Linked DNA regions of Homo sapiens: regions 1 and 3 are each linked to region 2. The links are contacts of gene promoters, found by promoter capture Hi-C in blood cells and fetal thymus (Javierre and others, 2016). All regions are on one chromosome and are shown on one strand. Each heading gives the region's core, a stretch centred on a gene start or on the middle of the fragment in contact. The rest is flanking DNA. Distances are from core to core; before and after follow the strand shown. Region 1 holds the start of CTSB (cathepsin B). Region 2 holds the start of XKR6 (XK related 6). Region 3 overlaps NEIL2 (nei like DNA glycosylase 2).

Region 1 (2,700 bases), core at 1-2,500, 670 kb after region 2:
GAGACAGAGCCAGCCAACGCCCTCTTAGGCCTCTTCGCCTTACGTTCCTGAACGTTTGGATTCAAAGAGAGTGCATCTCAGCTATCCTCTCCTCCGGCAGCAGGCAGTGGGAATGTTTTTCCAGGCTACAAAAAGGTGCCAGGTCTGCATTTGAACCCCACAGCGTCACTTCTCCAGTGGGTTTGGGGGGTCTCTCGTCCGTTAGGAGGAGGAGTGTGGGGCCTGCGCTAGGGTCCTTTTCTTTGCCAGCCTGCTGGCTTTCTCAGCGCCTGGGAAGGGGGTGACAGAGGCCCACCAGGAAGCCAAGTGCAATTCACTTCCACCTGGGTCGCCCACCCCAGCCTGCCTGCAACGCCCCACACCCAGCACCCACTGCTCCCCAGAGGCCAACTCCCCCCGGCCTCCAGGGCTACTAACCGAGGGGGAGGTGGCGCCCCAGGGACTCTGCCCGGCCTCCCTTTACTGGAGTCCAGGAGCAGGGTGCGCCCCCGGCCTTCTCCCCACCGGCATCCAATCGCCCATTCGCCTCTTGGTTTCGCTGTCTGGTTTCTCTTCCTGTTTATGGATTTAACACCGTGCGGCTTCCTCCCCAGCCCACCCAGTGCCAGATTCCTGTTCTTCAACAGGACCTGTCTTCTGGGGTCCCAGGAATTGCGTGGGATCTTGCGCAGAAAGTTGGCCAGGCAAATCCTTCGCAATGAGGGGGAAATAAACCGAAAATAGATGCCGGCAGATGCGATTATGTCGGCAGTTTGGCCCGGAGACACCGAGGCCCAGGCGCTGGGAGCGCGGTCCCAGGCAGCAGTCTCCGGACCCGGCCGAGCTCTTCCTCGCAGGCGCCTCCCTCGGCGGTCCTGGCCGCGTCCCCGCTCCGAGGGCCGGGGTCCGGCGCACAGCCCGGGGAGGGGAGCGGAGGGCAGAGGGCTGGCGGGCGGAGCTGTTTTCTGCTTTTCTCGCCGACGCTTCGGAGCGCGCGGACTCCCACCCCAGCCCGCCCGTCAGGGACAGTCCCGAGGGTCCCGGCTCCCCGCCGGCCCCCAGGGACGCCGCGGGGCCGCGCCTGGGCCCGACTGAGGGCGCAGAGGAACCCGTCTCGGCGGCCGGGTAGCACCGTCCCCGCCAAGGTCACTTACGCTGCGGTGGCCCCGGGTCCCCAGCACTCACCCAGCGCTGCAGCCGAGAGCCTGCAGCCCAGCCTGCGCGCAGCGGAGCGGTTGGCGTTGCCGGAGCGGTTGCCGGAGCCCTGCAGCCGCCGTAGCCTGGGCCAGCCCCGGCCCTAAGTACCCTCCCGGCCCCGCCCCACGTGACCACCGCGCAGCCCCGCCCGGGCCCTCCCGCCGCCCGCGCACGGTGCTTCCCAGCCCCCACCCCCTCCCGCCACCTTCCGCCGCCCGCGCTCCCCGCTTCCCGGCCCCGCACACCCCCCGCCCCCTTCCGCTCGGGGTCCGGGGCCACCGCCGGGGGCGGGCGGGGGCCTGAGCGCGCGGGCTGGGGAAGAAGGGCTTGGAGCCCTGCGGGCCCTGGGTGGCGAAACGCTGCGAATTGGGGCCAGGGGATGGGGAAAAAGCCCCTAAAGGTGGTCCCAAGGCCCCCACCCCGCCTAGAAAAGTCCCCCCGCCTCGCGGGACCGCCTCCGCCAGAACCCGCGCCTGGGATCCCTGCCTGCCGAGTTGGCGGGGGTGGGGTGGTGGAGAGGGCGCCGTCGCTTATTTCATTCATTCAGAAGCCGCTGCAGAGGCTGGGGGTGGCGAGGCTGTGGACCCCACAGAACAGCCTTTAGAAGGGCCACTTTGTTGTTCAGAGAACGTACCCACAAAACACTACAGCTACGTACAAATAGAAAAGAGTGGCTGTCACTGCGAAGGAACCTAGGAGCTGCGTCAGGATTTCTAAGAGGAGAAGGACCTTGGGGGCGGAAATCGGTTTGGCACAGGAGTACCCGGAGACCTGCTCCGAGAGGACGGACAAAGTGCACATTTACTTGGGGTTTATTACCGGGAGGCCCTGGAAGGGAGATGCAGGGGTTGGCTCAAGACTCACCCTCCTCCAGACACTCCCCAAACAGCTTTAATCCTTAAGACAAACCTGCAAAGCAGGCATGACCCCAGTTGTATTCAAGAGGCTCAGAGGGGCTGGGTTCGGTGGCTCACGCCTGTAATCCCAGCATTTTGGGAGGCCGAGGCCGGTGAGTCACCTGAGGTCGGGAGTTCGAGACCATCCTGACCAACATGGAGAAACCCCGTCTCTACTAAAAATACAAAACTAGCCGGGCGTGGTGGCGCGTGTCAGTAATCCCAGCTACTCGGGAGACTGAAGCAGGAGAATCGCTTGAACCCGGGAGGCGGAGGTTGCGGTGACCAGAGATCGCACTATTGCACTCCAGCCTAGGCAACAAGAGTGAAACTCTGTATTAAAAAAAAAAAAAAGGCTCAGAAGAATCGTATTTTATCCAGGCTGTGGCGACAGTAAGAAGGCAGTAGCCGGGTGCAGTGGCTCACGCCTGTAATCCCAGCACTTTGGGAGGCCGAGGCGGGCGGATCACGAGGTCAGGAGATCAAGATTATCCTGGCTAACACGGTGAAACCCCGTCTCTAGTAAAAATACAAAAAATTAGCCGGGCGTGGTGGCGGGCGCCTGTAGTCCCAGCTACTCGGGAGGCGGAGGCAGGAGAATGGCGTGAACCCGTGAGCTGAGATCGTG
Region 2 (2,790 bases), core at 113-2,612:
GAGCCCCCCGCGCTGGGCCCTTTCGAGGGGCCGCCCCGCGAAGCACCGGGAGGGCGGAGGGGGGCTCCTCAGGGCCGGCCCGCCCCCACCCCGCAGTGCTCTTACCTCCACACCTGCCCCATCTGCAGCAGGTGGATGACCGACTGCCAGATCCACACGGAGAGGCGACACAGGCGCTGCGCCCCCGGCGTGGGGGAGACCCTCACGCCTGGGCCACCGCGGGCCGCGCCGTGGACGTAGCCGGCCCCCATCATGGGGGGGCCCCGGCTGGTGAGCCCCTCCACGGCGCCCAGCCCGCCGCCCGTGTAGTCCTGCACGAACCAGCGGAAGCTCAGGCTCTGCACCAGCAGCGACGGCACCAGCACGAAGAAGAGGGTCAGCCCGAAGTAGACGTAGTCCCCCTTGCGGTAGTAGTCGAGGGCCAGCCACAGGTCGGTGCCCACGTCCCCGAAGAACACCAGCAGCGCCAGCACGATCCACAGGCAGTCGAGCCACGGCCGCTCCACCTGCGGCGGCGGCGGCTCCGGCCGCGCGGCCGAGGGCGTCGGGGGTTGGCGGCCGGCGCCGGGGGCCGCGGGAGGCTGCAGCGGCTGGTCCCCCCCGTCGGCGGCGGCGCTGCGGCGCGGCTTCCTGCCCAGGAGGGAGCGCAGGCAGGCGGAGCGGCAGCCCCAGTAGCACGAGGAGGTGTTGCAGCAGTGGCAGATGTGCATCGAGCTGCTCTCGCCGGGCTCGCTGCCGTCGCCGCCGCCGCCGCAGCCGCCTCCCCCGGGCTCCCCGTCCTCCTCGCCGCCGCTGCCCACCGCCTCGTCCAGGTTGTGCAGCTGAGCGAAGCCCACCCCCACGCCACCGCCATCGGATTTCGCCGCCATCTTGACTCTCTTCCCAGCTCCGGAGGTTGGGGGGGAGGGACGGCGGGGGGGGGGGGAAGAAGGCAGGGAACGGGGAGGGGGGGAAACGAATGGAGAGGAAGGGGGGCGGGGAGGAAGCGGGGGAGCAAACGAACGAGGGGGGAGTGGGCCAGGGAACCCCCTCCGCTTCCGGGTAGTTGGCGTCACTTCCGGGCGAGCCCCCCAATCGCACGGCGCCCGCAGCTCCCCAGCCCTACCCTCCCGGCCAAGATGGCCGCCCTCCTGTGCCTCAGCTGCTGGGCGGGGGACCGGGGGGTTCTCCCCGCCAGGGCTCCCCTTCCCCTCTTCCGTTGACCCCGAAACCCATCAGGTTGACCCCTCGGCGTTTCAGAATCCGGCTGGCCCGAGTGAGGCGGTCCAAAGTGATCCCTGGAGGGGGCAGTGCCAGACGTTTTGGGGTCCCCTTCCTCAGCGTCGCAGCTCACAGCTTTCCTCCTGGAGAAACGCCCCCTAACACCCTCCCGGCTGCTGGTGGAGGGGCGGGACCTCTGAGGGAAGGGGCGGAGCTAGTGCAAAGCAGGTGATTACGTGTCACTTCCGGGAGATGGGATGACCTCATTGTGTAGTTAGACAACACCCCCCCCCAATCAAAATGTCTATGTCTCACCTCTTTGGCTGTTTCTATTTTCTTTTAAATTTCTCTTATTCTTCTCTTATTTTGAGGGTCTTTAAAAATTACATAAGTCAGATTTTCACAATCAAGTTACTGATTCTCACTTCCATTTAGACACCTCTCCTCTTACCTCTGTTGACCTCCTGATTTTCCTGTCACTGACAACTTAACCACCTTTTGTAATAAAGTTTCCATCATTACCTTAAAAAAGCTTCAGGCAAAATTCAATTGGAAATCAGCCTGGTTGGGTCTTACATGTTGGAGCAAGGAATGAATGGGCATATTGTGACCTTGAATATATTTTCTGCCCTATGGAAATATATTCTACCAACTTTTTTTTTAATATGCAATTTTTAAATTCTGTGATCTTAATTTGGAAAATGCAGAACTAGCCAGGGCTTAACCTGTATCAATTATTTGTTCAGGTTATTTAAATGTGTAAGGAGTGCCTTTTAGAATTTTTTTGGTGCTAAGGCGCTGTGGGTAAACATTGCTTTAAATAAGGAAAAAAATGTTATCAATGTGCTATATCATTAAAGTAGGTGCAGGATACACTACTTAAACTTAGCTAACAAATTACAAAAGTGAAACAGCACTGAATGGATTTGAATTACAATGATCTTCCAGTGAAAGTATTTTTGAAGCCAGATAGCCAAAATAGGGCAAGCTACATGGTTACAGTTGTTCCTGATCAGATGAAATGAACATTTTACAGTTAAAAAAAAGAATGAGGGGGAAAAAAATCCCTGAATTTTCTCATTGACTTCCCTAGATTTTTGAACTCATTTTTGTGATTCTGTCTACTTCTCCATTCACTAAAGTCTTCTAATAATGCCAATAACTGTCTTTAGAATGTTAAGAGTACAAATTAGGTAATATTTATATGGCTGGAGGTTCTATGGCAGAAAGGTGCGTTTGACAACTTCAATAGTTACTTTGATACTATTGAATACTATGGCACCTATGAGTTTTGGGAGTGGCAGGGTAGATGGGGATACTACATTTTAGGACACAGCTTTTCATGAGTATATATGCCAGTGTGAAATCTCTGAAGACTTTAGAAAAATTACTAATAGTGAATTTTTACTCCCATACATTGGGAAGAGGGGAGTGATTCCAAAATCAACTTTTAGAAACCAGCCATATAACTGTATCCATGTATTTCATGCTATGATTTAAGCCTCATACTCCCTATGGTATGTAAAACTCATACTCATATGTAAGCCTCATACTCCCTATGGTAGTAAAACTTAAGGCCAGCAGGTAAAG
Region 3 (2,812 bases), core at 273-2,772, 570 kb after region 2:
GGGCTGCTCCTCGCCAGTATTGTGCCCCCAGCACTTAGCTGAGTGCCGGCACGTAGGAAGCACGGGTGGTGCCTGTGGATGAGCTCACGCGCTCTGCTGCTGCTTAGCCGTGTGCTCTTAAGCATGTTCATCTCATAGCTCTTTCTTCTATTGTAGAATGGAGATAAGCCATTGACCTCTTAAAGTTGTTGTTTTAAGTAGAGTTTATGCCTGGCACATAACGGGTACTCCATAAGTACTAGTTCCCTTTCTTCCATCTTGCCCTCACCCCCCACCCCCGCAACACACACACACAGAGGTTTTAAAACCGTTGTTAGTTAGAACTGGAAGAGATCCTGTAGCCCTGTACCCATAGTTGATTCCTTTGGAGACTGAGGCTCGGAGAAGGGAGTACTTAGCCCAAGCTCAGGTGGCTGGCAAGGAACAGGTGAGAGCACGGGGTCCCATGGCCTCCAGGACTGTGGCCTCTTTGTACACACTGTCCTTCGAGGTTTGCAGGGGCAGAATTGTCTCTTGTCTCTGGATCCCCAGCACTTACCAGGGTGTCTGCCACAGAGCTGGCTGTAAGAGAATATTTCCCAAGTGGATGGGTGGGCAGATGGATGTGCGGTGAAGGAACCCGTAGACGGGACTGGGAGCTGCTTTCCCAGTAAACCAAGCAGAAAACCATGTTGCAGGGAACCTAAGGTTGCAGGGAACCTTCGGGGCTGCCTGGCAGTGCTTTGAAGTGAGCGCCCTTCCCTGCTTCTCCCTGTCGGCGGGTCCCTGACCCTAGGAACTTAGAACTGAATTGAGAACATACGGCTTGTATCGACACAGGCCACACTATTAAGCTATGCTAAATGGGGAGGGCAGAGCACATCATAAAGGCCCAGGTAATGACCCTGACAGGAAGAGGTCCCGGTGGCCTGGAGAAGATGTGCAGGAGGTAGGACTTGAGTTGGGCCTTGAAGGCTGGAGGATTTCAGTGGACTGAAGAGGGAGGAAAGGGCATTTCAGGCTTGAGAAGCAGTTACAGGCGGGCCGATGGAGGTGGAGTGAGCAGGGTGAGTTGATGAGGCAGGAGGGAGCTTGGCTGCACTCTGTGCCATCTGTTTGTCTGGCACATCCTTTTCTTGTCAGCTCTCCATTTTCTATATAGGAGTTGTGTTGGATTACTCATAACAGACTCAGAAAAATGGCTACTCTAGCTCATGGTTTTCTCCTCCTCCAGTAATGGAACAGTCCAGGGTGGTATAGGAGCAACATTGGAAACCAAGCTCCTTCTACTCTCCCCTTCCAAGACTGGGTAATTTATGAAGGAAAGAGGTTTAATGGACTCACAGTTCTGCATGGCTGGGGAGGCCTCGCAATTATGGCAGTAGGCGAAGGGGAAACAAAGGCACATCCTACATGGTGGAAGGCAAGAGAGCTTGTGCAGGGGAATTACCATTTATAAAACCGTCAGGCCAGGTGCAGTGGCTCATGCCTGTAATCCCAGCACTTTGGGAGGCAGAGGTGGGCAGGTCGCCTGAGGTCAGGAGTTTGAGACCAGCCTGGCCAACATGTTAAACCCCATCTCTACTAAAGATGCACAAATTAGCTGGGCATGGTGGTGGGCGCCTGTAATCCCAGCTACTTGGGAGGCTGAGGCAGGAGAATTGCTTGAACCCAGGAGACAGAGGTTGCAGTGAGCTGAGATCGCACCTGCGCTCCAGCCTCAGCAACAGAGTGAGACTCCATCTGAAAAACAACAACAACAAAAAACCCATCAGATCTCTTGAGACTTATTTACTATCACGAGAACAGCCCCCATGATTCAATTACCTCCCACTGGGTACCTCCCACCAGGTCCGTCCCATAACACATGGGAATCATGGGAGTTATATTATTCCACCCCCAGGCCCTTCCAAAGCACAAGTCCTCACATTTCAAAACCAATCATGCCTTCCCAACAGTCCCCAAAAGTCTTAATTCATTTCAGCATTAATTTAATAGGCCACAGTCCAAAGTCTCATCTGAGACAAGGCAGGTTGCTTCCACCTATGAGCCTGTAAAATCAAAAGCAAGTTAGTTACTTCCTAGATACAATGGGGGTACAGGCATTGGGTAAATACACCTGTTTCAAATGGGAGAAATTGGCCAAAACGAAGGGGCTACAGGCCCCATGCAAGTCTGAAATCCAGTGAGGCAGTCAAATCTTAAAGCTCCAAAATGATCTTTGACTCCATGTCTCTCATCCAGGGCACGCTGATGCAAGAGGTAGACTCCCACGGCCTTGGGCAGCTCTGCCTCTGTGGCTTTGGTAGGGTACAGTCCGTCATCCTGGCTGCTTTCACAGGCTGGCATTGAGTGTCTGTGTGTTTTCCAGGGCAGGGTGCAAGCTGTCAGTAGATCTACCATTCTGGGGTCTGGAGGACAGTGGCCCTCTTCTCACAGCTCTACTAGGCAGTGCCCCAGTGGGAACTCTGCCTTGGGGCTCTAACCCCGTCTTTTCCTTCTGCACTGCCCTAGCAGAGGTTCTCAATGAGGGCTCTGCCCCTGCAGCACACCTCTGCCTGGACATCCCGTTGTTTCTATACATCCTCAGAAATCTAGGTGGAGGTTTCCAAACCTCCATTCTTAACTTCTGTGCACCTGCAGGCTCAACACCACATGTGAACCGCCAAGGCTTGGGGCTTGTACCCTCTGAAGCAGCAGCCTGGGTTGTACATTGGCGCTTTTTAGCCATGGCTGGAGGGGCTAGGACACAGGGCACCAAGTCCCTAGGCTGCACACAGCAGAGGGGGCCCTGGATCTGGCCCAGGAAACCATTTTTTCCTTCTAGGTGTCT

The links. The method cuts DNA at HindIII sites, captures the fragments that hold promoters and counts their contacts. A CHiCAGO score of 5 or more calls a contact.
Region 1: a contact is called between the fragment with the promoter of CTSB here and the fragment with the promoter of XKR6 in region 2, in 2 of 17 cell types (total B cells and fetal thymus). The highest score is 6.3, in total B cells.
Region 3: a fragment that was not itself captured here is called in contact with the fragment with the promoter of XKR6 in region 2 in 3 of 17 cell types (naive CD4 T cells, naive CD8 T cells and total CD8 T cells); the score reaches 5.6 in naive CD4 T cells.

What each region holds. Positions count from the first base shown.
Region 1 is chr8:11,866,837-11,869,536 of GRCh38, forward strand. CTSB (cathepsin B) reads right to left here and starts at 1,251. Exons shown (of 10, transcript NM_001908.5): 1 at 1,165-1,251. RefSeq lists an enhancer at 515-724 and silencers at 815-1,144, 1,285-1,404. The HindIII fragment of the contact is 8,989 bases long and covers 1-2,700 here.
Region 2 is chr8:11,200,471-11,203,260 of GRCh38, forward strand. XKR6 (XK related 6) reads right to left here and starts at 1,363. Exons shown (of 3, transcript NM_173683.4): 1 at 106-1,363. The coding sequence starts at 869. RefSeq lists silencers at 1-316, 517-876, 957-1,126. The HindIII fragment of the contact is 2,424 bases long and covers 1-1,730 here.
Region 3 is chr8:11,772,648-11,775,459 of GRCh38, forward strand. All of the region lies in intron 2 of NEIL2 (nei like DNA glycosylase 2), which reads left to right. Among named protein-coding and RNA genes, the nearest start is that of NEIL2, 4.3 kb to the left of the region's middle. The HindIII fragment of the contact is 7,750 bases long and covers 1-2,812 here.